Linked DNA regions of Homo sapiens: all the other regions are linked to region 1. The links are contacts of gene promoters, found by promoter capture Hi-C in blood cells and fetal thymus (Javierre and others, 2016). All regions are on one chromosome and are shown on one strand. The core of a region is centred on a gene start or on the middle of the fragment in contact, and the rest is flanking DNA. Distances in the headings are between cores, read along the strand shown.

The links. The method cuts DNA at HindIII sites, captures the fragments that hold promoters and counts their contacts. A CHiCAGO score of 5 or more calls a contact.
Region 2: a contact is called between a fragment that was not itself captured here and the fragment with the promoter of SMIM19 in region 1, in 2 of 17 cell types (fetal thymus and naive B cells). The highest score is 6.0, in fetal thymus.
Region 3: a contact is called between a fragment that was not itself captured here and the fragment with the promoter of SMIM19 in region 1, in 1 of 17 cell types (fetal thymus). The highest score is 5.3, in fetal thymus.
Region 4: a fragment that was not itself captured here is called in contact with the fragment with the promoter of SMIM19 in region 1 in 1 of 17 cell types (fetal thymus); the score reaches 6.7 in fetal thymus.

What each region holds. Positions count from the first base shown.
Region 1 is chr8:42,540,150-42,543,147 of GRCh38, forward strand. SMIM19 (small integral membrane protein 19) reads left to right here and starts at 1,436. Exons shown (of 4, transcript NM_001135674.2): 1 at 1,436-2,224. It also overlaps a transcript of SLC20A2 not described here. RefSeq lists silencers at 1,017-1,296, 1,437-1,856. The HindIII fragment of the contact is 8,293 bases long and covers 1-2,486 here.
Region 2 is chr8:42,165,930-42,169,060 of GRCh38, forward strand. It overlaps AP3M2 (adaptor related protein complex 3 subunit mu 2), which reads left to right. Exons shown (of 9, transcript NM_006803.4): 7 at 1,235-1,442; 8 at 1,737-1,881; 9 at 3,032-3,131. Among named protein-coding and RNA genes, the nearest start is that of AP3M2, 14 kb to the left of the region's middle. The HindIII fragment of the contact is 4,036 bases long and covers 1-3,131 here.
Region 3 is chr8:42,851,073-42,854,047 of GRCh38, forward strand. RNF170 (ring finger protein 170) reads right to left here. Exons shown (of 7, transcript NM_030954.4): 7 at 2,229-2,975. Among named protein-coding and RNA genes, the nearest start is that of THAP1, 9.2 kb to the left of the region's middle. The HindIII fragment of the contact is 2,191 bases long and covers 559-2,749 here.
Region 4 is chr8:42,145,583-42,148,790 of GRCh38, forward strand. No RefSeq gene overlaps it. Among named protein-coding and RNA genes, the nearest start is that of AP3M2, 5.9 kb to the right of the region's middle. The HindIII fragment of the contact is 901 bases long and covers 1,447-2,347 here.

The DNA.
Region 1 (2,998 bases), core at 186-2,685:
GGCGTGGTGGCGGGCGCCTGTAATCCCAGCTACCTGGGAGGCTAAGGAAGGAGAATCGCTTGAACCCGGGAGGCGGAGGTTGCAGTGAGCCAAGACAGTGCCATTGCACTCCAGCCTGAACGAGAGCAAAACCCCGTCTCAAAAAAAACAAAACAATAACAATAATGTACACGTTTCACATTTGGACACACTGAAATCAAACTCACGTATTCAAATTTTTTTAGATTAAGTTACATAAAGCATGCACACCATTTGGCACAGGCCCGGCAAACAATCAGTACTCAACATCACCTGTTATTTTCCTGATTTTCCAACTTTAGAGTCAAACTAAATGTTATAGAATTATATGTATGATTATGTATATACAATATATATAAATACATATAAATACCGTAAATTAAGCTAGTATGTTATTGCGTAAAGTAATGGTCTTACCCTAGACGAAGGTGAGTTTAATTGTAACAGATGAAACAAAGAATAGAAAACTTGTTAAGAAGTGTTCAATGTAAGCTCTCATCTCTGCAGGGTTTCATGTGACTTATAATTACCAGTCAGCTGGTCCTAGAGAACTTAATCAAAATGTATAGTAAAGACGAACTACGTGGACCAGTGGCCATTTATCTGCAAGGTGGCACCAGCCACTGACATCTGATCACTTCCATACTGATGCTGAAATCCTATGCAAATTCATTACTTAGGTCAAGCTGGGAAACACTTCTGTCAAGTCACTACACAATTAAATAAAAATACCCAAAAGGGACTTACACTGACAATGCTATAGCATCCTGGCCATATCCAGTTTTGAAAACACTACGGTGTCAGCCACGCACCATTTAGGACGGGGAGAATGGAAAGCCAGTTTGGAGAACAGACGCTTTCTTAAGAGTACACGTGAATATGAAAAGGGACTCTATGCTCTCAAGACCAAAAAAGAAATCCTCTGCGCCGCCCGGCTACATTGCGCCTGGTGGGACAATGTACACGACCCCTCCCCCGCCGAGTCCCACCCCAAGCGCGCACAGCGGAGCAGGAGGCGCCCGGCACTCGCAGGTAATGCCCGGTCCCTGCCACTTCCGTCGAGTTTTCGCAAAGGCGCCGCACGGCAAGCGACGGCCAGGTCCACGTGGGCCAGCAGGCGCGGGGGACGCAACCCGCCGCCGCCGCGAGCCCCGCCGGCGCCGACCAGCCCTGGCCCCCACCCGCGGGAGCCCGGGAGTCGGGCCGGGGGCTCGCGGGAGGCGGCGCGCGCAGCCCGGGCGGGGGTCGCGGCGCGGTAGGGGAAAGGAGCCCGGCTCCACTCACGCGCCCGGGGGCGGCACTGGGGCCGCCGCTGCGTCTCTCCGGCTCAAAAAACTGAAAAGGGGAAAGGAAAAAAAAAAAAAAAAGACCTGGCTCCTCGTTTCATCCGGAAACCGACCGGCCGGCAGGAAATGACGAAGGCAGAGGGCGTCCAGGTCCGCTCGGTAACCGTTTCCCGCGCGCCCGGCCCCGACTCCGGGGTAAAGAGCCCCGGAGCGGAGCAGCGCTGGCCGCGTGCCGCCTCCGGAGCCGGCAGCGTGAGTGGCCCCGCGTCCCCGCTTCTCCCGGTCCCCGGCGGGGCCGCGTCACCCGGCCCCGCCCCGCGCCGCCCGCCCCGCCCCGGACGCGGGGGTAAGGGGGGTGGCCGCCCGCCTGCCCTCGGTCCCGTGCGGTCCCCGAAACTCCGAGCACCCGCCCGGTCCCGGCGCGGAGCCCCTCGGCGTCGCGTGGAGCTGCGAGTCGCCCGCTTCCGGAAGCGCACACGGGCCAGTTGCGGCGGCCCATCTGCCGGGGCGGCGGGGGCTCGGCGGGAGGGTTGAGGCTGAATCACGCGCAGCCTGCGGGCGGCGGAAACGTCCCTAGAGCCTCGCCGCCCTGGGACCCGGGCTGCTTCCTGGGAGAGGATTACATTTTCTCCCTGCTCCACTTGACTTTCTTCCGGAAGGAGCAGGTCTCGCAGGATCGGGGCCAAGACTGGAAGAGTTCAGGTTTGGGAGTCGTGTGTATAACAGCCCCGCGCCTCCACGCCCAGGCCTGTGTGGCTTTGGACAAGTTATATAACCACCGCCGCCACCCCAGTTTCTTCTCCTGTAAAATGGAGCTTTAGTGCCGCCCAGCAGGGTTGTTGGGATAATTCAGTGACTCTGTGGACTGCCCAGCACCTGTGAATTGCTTTCCTGGATGTTGGGTGAAGGCCTGTGAGCTTGTATGTACCCTTTGGCTTCAGAATACCAAGCCTTTAGTGTTTCAGAGGGATGAGAGAAAGAAATCCCATTTTTTGATGCAGAGGATTTTGTTGTAAGGGACTCTAGGAACTAAGTGGTTCCAATGTGAATTTGTATCAAAGTAACAAAGTTCTAAGTGAGAGACAAAAATGATAACATTCAAGGCACGATGACAAGCGGTGGTCAATTTTAGAATCACCTAGACGTGACATCAGGAACCCAAAATCACGACACAGATTTTAAAGCTTATGATACAGTGACCTAGTCCCTAGAAAAAGTAGTTCTCGGCTGGGCACGGTGGCTCACGCCTGTAATCCCAGCACTTTGGGAGGCTGAGGCGGGCGGATTGCCTGAGCTCAGGAGTTTTGAGACCAGCCTGGGCAGTATAGTGAGACGACCCCCACCCCACCCCCGTCTTTAAAAAAAAAAAAATAAGAATTACCCAGGCATGGTGGCACTTGCCTGTATTCCCAACTACTTGGGAGGCTGAGGCAGGAGAATCCCTCGATTCTGGGACGTCGAGGCTGCAGTGAGCCGAGATCGCACCACTGCCCTCCAGCCTGGGTGACAGAGTGAGACCCTGTTTTTGTAAAAAAAAAAAAAAAAGTAGTTCTCATCCTAAAAGTTTGTCAATCTAAAACCAACCCCTAGTTGTAATATATTGGCAAGTTTATATACTCTTGTTTACTTGAGACTTAATTCAGCCCATCCTAGCCTCTCCTTACTGAAATAGTTCAAGCATTACATTACAGGAA
Region 2 (3,131 bases), core at 108-2,607, 370 kb before region 1:
TAAGTTATGCTATGAAAAAGCATAAAACGCAGTGATTTTTGGTCTTGAACATTCTCTTTAATTTGGAATCTAAAGGCTTTTGGAAGCAGTTTTGTATAGTATAAGGTATGCAGACAGAAGAGAGTCAGGAGGCCTCAGAGCCACCAGTCCCTTCCCGTGTGATGTGGAATGAATCATTTGGGAAAATATCTGAGTGCTTGAGGTCAAAGCCTCTGGAATCAGACTCCCTGGACTTAAACCCCATCTTCAGTACTTAGAACCTTGGGCAAGTTACTTAATCTCAGTTAAGTATAAGGACATCAGTATTCATCTATAAAATCAGTACCTACTACATAGTTACAGTAGCAGTATCTACTTCATACTTATTGGGAGGATTAAACACGGTAGGAGTTAAATGGATAGAAACCATTTAGCATAGTGACTGGCAAACAGGAAGTACTCAATACATGTTAGGAACTGTTATTACTTCAGGGTTATTCCGTGACTTCTCTGAATCCTTTTCTTCTGTCAAATCATGACAGCCTACCCTACCTTATGGGGTTTTTGTAAGGACCAGATGATGTCAGATGAAAGCATTCTAAAAAAATTATAGAGACAAGAGGATCACTTGAGCCCAGGAGTTCGAGACCAGCATGGGCAACATGGCCAAACCTTGTCTCTACAAAAAAAAAAAAAAAAAAAGTAAAAATTAGCGGGGTGTGATGTTGTGTGCCTGTGGTCCCAGCTACTCAGGAGGCAGTGGTGGGAGGATCACTTGAGCCTGGTATGTCGAGGCTGCAGTGAGCTATGATCGTGCCACTGCACTCCAACCAGGCTGACCGAGCCAGACCCTATCTCAAAAAAAAAAGAAAGAAATTATAAAAGGTCCATGAGCTATGAATATTATACTCCCCAGTGCAAATGATGACTGGTCACATGTTACAAGTTAAAAACATGGAGACATAATGACAATACATTTTTGTACATTATGCCTTTGTCATAGTAGTGTACTTTTTGATTTTGTTTGTATTATTCAGAGTCATTAGAAAAGTTAATTTAGTTACTAGACAGTAGCTTTTCAAAAAGAAAAAATTAGATTACTGGGGTTTTTTTCTGTTTATTTTTTCAGATAAAAAGTAAGGACATAGTTAAGGGAGAAGAAGCTACCCACAGGGCAGAAAAAGCATCATGTGAAAGGAAGAACTACCATTTTCCCAGTGCACGAATGAAATGACTCTTTGTCTCTCATTTCCAGTCTGGTTGCAATCCCAGTGTATGTCAAACATAACATCAGTTTCCGGGACAGTAGTTCCCTTGGACGCTTTGAAATAACGGTGGGACCCAAGCAGACGATGGGGAAGACCATTGAGGGAGTGACTGTCACCAGCCAGATGCCCAAGGGGGTCCTGAACATGAGCCTTACTCCATCACAGGGGACACACACATTCGACCCAGTCACAAAGGTAGGGATGAGCAGGACATCTTGAATTGCTGATGTTAAGCAGAAACCAGTCTGCAGGTTCTCTGTGTAGACTCTAGACCTTGTTTGGAAGGTGAGATGAGTCAAAGGGACCTTGTTTTCTCCTGCCAGGTAACTTAACAGTAACACGTAGGATTCTCAATGGAAAGATACCCAGAGGCAGCTTATAATGTTGTGGACAGGTGCCCTGAGTTTAGATCTCAGCCACCTCAAATGCAGGATTCTGCTGTAACTATTTTTTGGAAAGACCACTTCTCCATTTTTATTTTCTTTGAAGATGCTGTCTTGGGATGTAGGAAAAATAAATCCACAAAAGCTACCAAGTTTGAAGGGGACCATGAGTCTTCAGGCTGGAGCTTCCAAACCAGATGAAAACCCCACAATTAACCTGCAGTTTAAGATCCAGCAGCTGGCCATTTCTGGTAAGTGACCCAGAGCTCAAGAGGCTCCAAAGGGAACAAAAACGGCTTTCTGCCATATGGCGCAGGCACCAGGAAGCCTTTCTGGGCTTCCTGTTTACAAGGTTTAGTTTCATTACCTGATAAACAATCTTTAGTAACATCTTTTCTGGCATGTTTCTGGGGAAAATTTACAATCCTTCCTTTGAAGTTGGCATAAGTGACCTGAATAAAAGTGCCTAAGACACACTGAGAAAGAAACAGTATTGGTAGAAGGAAGTATTCACTAGCCATTTTTGGATCATCTTAGGGTTGTTCATTTCAGGTTCCCAAGGTTTTCAGTATGAGAATCCATGTGCATTCTCAGCTATAACTGAAGTGTAATTTCCACTCCTTTCTTCTGTTTTCAGAAGACTTTCATGTTTGCTCTTATTTCTATTTTGGAACCACTGGGCCTTTCCAGGTCAGTTCACTATAGTCTGTGCCGACCTTAGCACGGTAGTCATCAGTTACCACTTTGGGGGCATTTACCATGTTCCAGGCACTGTTTTAAGCTCTTTTCATGTGTTTTCTTTTTTAATCCTTAGAAACTCTGTGATGTGGAAAGGAGATGACTTTAGCTTTATATGAAGTTTCTGTTTTTCTGTACAAACGGGCCTTATACAATTTAAGTGATTGGAATTCATTTGATGTATAAGCTCTTCAATCTTAAAACAATAAACTATAAAGCTCTATACCATATAAAATATTCTTGGCTTAGTCTAGTGAGAATACTTAGGAAGCATTCATTTATTAATTACTTTCATTGTTAATTCCTTTATTTATAATTTACTTCATTATTCATTTGTTTTGTTATTCATTTTTTCAGTCCAATAATTTGAGAAAAATCATGCAGTGGTCTAATTTTTTCCTTATCCTCATTTTAGTCTGCACATTACTTTGTACCCTTTCCACTTCAGGGACAGGTCTTCTCATAGGTAGCTTGTCTGTTGGAGCCTTTTTTTGCTGTCAGTATCTGTCCCAAGACTGGAGAATCCATCTGCTCTGCATAAGTGGTTCCCTGTCACAGCAATGTCGGTCCCACTGACTTCAGTGTATTGAACAGAAACAGTTAGGCGACCTGCTCCTTTTGAATAATACTCATGTCTATTTTCCCTCTCTCCCTCCTTTCTAGGACTCAAGGTGAATCGTCTGGATATGTATGGAGAAAAGTACAAACCCTTTAAGGGCATAAAATACATGACCAAAGCTGGGAAGTTCCAAGTTCGAACCTG
Region 3 (2,975 bases), core at 404-2,903, 310 kb after region 1:
CAACAGCCTTCCTGCTTCTTCAACCTCACTTCATGCCCTCCTTCCAGCTCCCTGGGCTCTACCACCACAGCCCCCATTGGGCTCCTGGACACACAGAACTCTCCTTGGACTGCGGTGGTGGCAGAGGGTATAGAGTGATAGGATTCGACATGTCAATGGTAGAAATGCCAGGGCTTGTTGATAGATGGTTATAAGAGTAAGAGAGGAGGCTGGGTGCAGTGGCTCACACCTGTAATCTCAGCAATTTGGGAGGCCGGGACTGGCGGATTACCTGAGATCAGGAGTTCCAGACCAGCCTGGCCAGGGTTTAGTAGAAACCCTGTCTCTACTAAAAATAGAAAAATTAGTTGGGTGTGGTGGTGGGCATCTGTAGTCCCAGCTACTCGGGAGACTGAGGCAGGAGAATCGCTTGAGCCCAGGAAGCGGAGGTTGCAGTGAGCCGAGATTGTGCCATTGCACTCCAGCCTGGGTGACAGAGTGAGACTCCGTCTCAAAAAAAAAAAAAAAAGAAAGAAAAAGAAAGAACAAGAGAAGGATTCAGATATTAACACCGAATTAAGCTTGCACCTCTGGCTTGAGCATTTTGAGATGGGATCTCCTGTCACTCAGGCTGGACTGCAGTGGTGCAACCCACAAGGCTCACCACAGCCTTCACTTCTGGGCCCAAGTGATCCTCCCACTTCAGCTCTGGAGTAGCTAGGACCACAGGCATGCACCACCACGTCTGGCTAATTTTATTTGTAGAGACGGGGGTCTCACTATGTTGCTCAGACTGGTCTCAAACTCCTGGACTCAAGTGATCCTCCTGCCTCGGACTCCCAAAGTGCTGGGATGATAGGTGTGAGCCACCACACTGTCCTCGCTTGAGCATTTAAATGGATGGATGGTGGTTCCTTTTACTGAGAGTCAAACGGCCTTTAATAAAAAGAAGGGAGCTATTTCTGCCAGCAAAGTAAAGGCCTTGGCAGGGGAGAAGTGGTTTAGGAAAACTAGGTTGTCACCTGGGAGGTGCAGGAATATCAGAAGAGAATGAACGTTTAAGACAGTTCAGAGAAGCTGGGGGCACAAGCCACTCAAGCAGCACCCAAGGATCACCTGCCAGCAGGGTGCCCTCTTGGTGTCTATGATCATTAATCCATCTAGAATGAAACTGGTCAATGTGGTGTCCCTCAGCCAAGTTCTCTTCCTTGTTCCCTTTTCTTGTTTCCTGTCTTCCAGTGATCCATAACTTGGAAATGAAATATATACTTTTATTACCTGTTGAATATAATCCTTATATTTCCTTATTTCAAAGTGGTAAACTTATCATTGGTATGGTGAATTACATATAATTTATTTATTCATTTATTTTTTTTTAATTTTTGAGATGGAGTCTCACTCTGTCACCCAGGCTGGAGTGCAATGGCATGATCTCAGCTCACTGCAACCTCTGCCTTCCAGGTTCAAGCGATTCTCCTGTCTCAGCCTCCCAAGTAGCTGGGACTACAGGTGCGTGCCACCACACCTGGCTAATTTTTGTATTTTAGTAGAGACGGGGTTTCACTATGTTGGCCAGGCTGGTCTCAAACTCCTGACCTTGTGATCTGCCCGCCTTGGCCTCCCAAAATGCTGGGATTACAGGTGTGAGCCACTGCGTCCAGCAGAATTTCATATAATTTAAAACAAAATTTGTTGCATTGAACTGAATGTTGAATTTTTCTTTGTAAAACATCTCCGTGACTAAATTTTCACTGTGGTCTGCAAATTAATTTATTTGCTTAATAGAAAAATAATTTTCAGCACTGGGCATGGTGGTTCACACCTGTAATCCCAGCACTTTGGAAGGCTGAGCCTGGGAGTTTTAGACCAGCCTGGGCAACACAGCCAGACCATGTATCTACAAACTTTTTTTTTTTTTTTTTTAATTAGCCAGGTGTGATGGCACACATCTATAGTCCCAGCTACTTGGGAGGCTGAGACAGGAGGATCACTGGAGCCCAGGAATTCGAGGCTGCAGTCAGCTATGATTGTAACACTGCACTCCAACCTGGGCAAGAGTGAGACCCTGTCTCTGACCAAAAAACAAACACACAAACAAAATAAAAAACCTAACAAAATTAATTAGAAATGTGATGAGATATTGGATGTCCATTAGTGATAAAGCCGTTGCAACCATTATACTGAATGCTCTTTCAGGAGTTCTGAAAGCAAACAACTGTTAAATAAACAGAAAAATAACACCTTTAAAATGTTTTAGATATGTTGCTTTTATTCAAAAGAATAAAATGCTTGACAAACTCTTTAATCACAAGGTTTGAACCAAACCACCAGTCTTCTACAACAACTCTGTGAGGTAGGTATCTGCATAGCCACAAGGGATCCACATAGTCCTTTCTTCCCTTGTACCTCTCAAACACTGAGAATTGTAGTAGTTGAAACCACTGTTCTAGTGGGCAGTTAGAACAGTTGTTTTCCCCGTCTTGTTCCCCACAGAGCTGCCCAAGTTATTATCTGCTCCTGGGGTTGGACCATCTGTTTTATGACAGTTATGATATTGTTGTTTAAAAAAAATCCAAATTGTTACTTTGATTTATATGATCTAACTCTGAATCACGGAAGTATTACTATGATGTTCAAAACTCTGATTGACTCTACTTGCTTTAAAAACTCTCAGATCCCTTCTGCATTTATCATCAGAGATCGGTAAAGATGACAACAAGCAGGTCTAAAGTTCTGAGATGTTAGCACATACCCTTTTCACAATTTAGGAAGCTTTAAGATCATTTAGTATTTTTTTATGTTACAAAATTTGGTACAATACACCTCTTTCAGGAAAGTCTTAGTAGTAACTCCAAATATTATAATTATTGTAACCAGAATTGTGACACTTGGAGCAGAATGCATGCACACAAAATAAAATCCTGTCAAAAAATGACATCACCATTCCCCCACACCAAATGTGTAATTGGTAGGAAATGCATTTCCAGTCTGGTACA
Region 4 (3,208 bases), core at 647-3,146, 390 kb before region 1:
CTTCCAAACAGAGGAAAGAGCATATTCTAGGCCCAGAGCTGAGAGTGGGGGTGAGTGGTGGAGGGGTGTGGCAAGAGATTCAACTGGAGAGATCGAGAGGACAGATAAGTGTTAAAGGTAGTCAGGTGTGGTGGCATGCCTGTAGTCCCATTTACTCAGGAGGCTGAAGCGGGAGTATTGCTTGAGTCCAGGAGTTCAAGGCTGCAATGAGTTATGATCACATCACTGCACTCCAGCCTGGGCAACACAGTGAGACCCTGACTCTAAGCGGGGAAAAAAAAGAAGTAGTAAAGGCATTTTTGATTTAATGCCATGGGAATGCATTGATGGGTTCCAAGCTGCACATAACTGTTTACAGTTTTAAAAGCTCACTTTTGCTGCTGTATAGAAAATGGATTGGAGGGGTGAGAGTAGAAATGGGAGACCAGTATGGCAGCGGTTATCATCTTTCAGGGAAGTGGTGATTGTGGCCTGGACTAAAGTGATGACATTGCATTGGAGAGATTCTGAATTCCTGATGTACATTGAAGATAGAATCCACAGGGTATGCTTCTGATTACATGAGGGGATGAGGGTAATGGAGGACTTGAGGATGACTCATGGGTTTGAGTAGCTGGATGGATGGTGGTATTGTTTACTAAGCTGGGGAAAACAGTTGAGGTTGGAGATACATCGAGAGCTGTCATCATTAAAAGGGTATTACACTCATGAAGCCATCTAGGGAGAGTGCAGAGAAAGAACCGCGGAGCGTCTACTAACAAGCCACAGAATAATGCCATGCCCCTGAGGTGAGGGTGTGGCCTCATGATTGGATATTCTTGTGGCTAATCATCTGGGGAAGGGACCATTTGGTGCAATAATTATGTCCCTCAGGAGACTGGAACCAGGAGGCCAGCCTGAGGCCACCAGGAGAGGGAGGCTGCTGTCTCCTTGTCAGACAAGGTTTGGATTTCAGGAACTCCAGATGGCTTGCCGGGGCTCCTAGGTGAGAGGAGGTACACAGCATCCCTGTCCCCTGGAAGCAGGTGTGCATCCCATAGAGACATCTAAGATGCCCGGATTGGATCACATTTGTGAGCTACATTTTTAGTTGCATGTTACTCTTTCTGCTCACTTCCTTTCTGTTATCTTCAAGTCTTTTTTTTTTTTTTTTTTGAGACTGAGTCTCGTTCTATCACCCAGGCTGGAGTGCAATGGCACGATCTTGGCTCACTGCAAACTCTGCCTTCCAGGTTCAAGCCATTCTCATGCCTCGGCCTCCCGAGTAGCTGGGATTACAGGTGGCCGCCACCATGCCCAGCTAATTTTTGTATTTTTAGTAGAAATGGGTTGGCCAGGCTGGTCTCGAACTCCTGACCTCAAGTGATCCGCCCACCTCTGTCTCCCAAAATGTTGGGATTACAGGCGTGAGCCACTGTGCTCGGCCTATCTTCAAGTCTTTAGACAAGCTTTGGATAAATGTCCATCCTGGTCTCTGCTCTGCTATAGGAAATTAAACAAACAACAAAAAATAGTGTGTCTTAAATGCCATTGAAGAGTTAAAGGGATACTGACCCTCCCAAAACCAGTATGGTGGTGGGAGCTGCAGCCAGCAGTGAGAGGTCCCTAAGGGGAAAGCGGATCTCTTTTTCTAGAGTAGGGCGTCAGGTTCAGTCTCTCCTCTCCACATGGACAGGCTCCTTTCATGGCCAGGCTTAAAGGAGCTGGTTTTTTTTTTTTTTTTTTTTTGAGATGGAGTCTCCCTCTGTGGCCCAGGCTGGAGTGCAGTGGCGTGATCTTGGCTCACTGCAACTTCTGCCTCCTGGGTTCAAGTGATTCTCCTGCCTCAGCCTCCCCGAGTAGCTGGGACTATAGGTGCATGCCACCACACTGGGCTAATTTTTTTTTTTTCTATTTTTAGTAGAGACAAGGTTTCACCATGTTGGCCAGGCTGGTCTCGAACTCTTGACTTCAGGTGATCCACCCGCCTTGGCCTCCCAAAGTGCTGGGATTACAGGTGTGAGCCACGGCGCCCGGCCTGGTTTTGATAAGGGGAGCAGTCTACACTTTAAATCCCCCCTCCACTTGACTGTATGTTCCTTGAAGTAACATAGAGTACCGCATCTTTGTACCCGCAGTGTCCAGGAGGTTGTAAGCACTCCATCACTGTTAGTTTAATAGGTGATTGTTCACTAGACATTGTGAGACACACTGTGGTTTCCCAAAGAGCTTAGAATCCAGATTTGGTCAGCAGATGCACATGTTGATGCATGGCAGAGTGTGCCCGCTCTGTAGGTTACATGAAAGAGCTGGGAAATGCTCTTTGATCACAGAGGAGGGAAACATTACTCCCAGTGTGGGGGCAAGAAGCTTCAAACAGACTTTGTGGAGGAGGAAACATATGGCTGGGCCTTGCGGGCTGGAGCGAATTTCCAAAATAGGATGAGTAAAAGACAAACATGTGCCAGGTAGAGGGCTCCGTGAGAAGGGAGGCATGAGGAGAAGGCATTCCATTGCTTCAGTGCATGACCGGTAGTGAGGTGTGTTGCAAGGAGAGCATACGTGTGAACAGGGAGGAAGTGGCAAAGACGCAGAAATGATGTTGCAGCTCTGAAAAAAATGTCTTTCTGGGTGGGCAAGGCCTCTCTTGTCTCAGACCAAAAATGAAATATAAATAAATAAATAAATAAATGGTTCCCAGTGAATCCTGATAGCTAGGATTAACTTTTTATGGTAGAAAAATTTCTCAGCAGTGAGAGCTGTTAAACATTAGAATGGTTTGTGAGTGGCAGCTTTAGGAAATCTTTCCCTAGAGATTTTTATGCACAAAATAGACTGACTTATCATTTGTCAATGATTTCCTGTGGCCTCTCTTAAAGTCATGGGAAAGTATTACATGAGCTCTCAGATTCTATGTTACTTGATTCAATTCAACAAACACTTGAGTGTCAACTTGGTTCATGCCCCCAGGCATTGCTATATACTGGATTCATGCGCCCTCCCCGCAAGGGGCCTCTCTTCCAGTGATCCCCATCTCAACACATGATGCTTCCATCCATGTCATTGCCCGAATCAGAAACCTACTCTGCCTCACCACTGACATTCCATTAATCCCTAATCCCTATCTTCTCTGGAAGGTGTCCACTTCTCTCTAATCCCTGCCTCATGGCTCCAGGCACTAGCTCTCTCCTAGGGATTACTGCAATTGTCTAAATAACCTCCCAGCCTC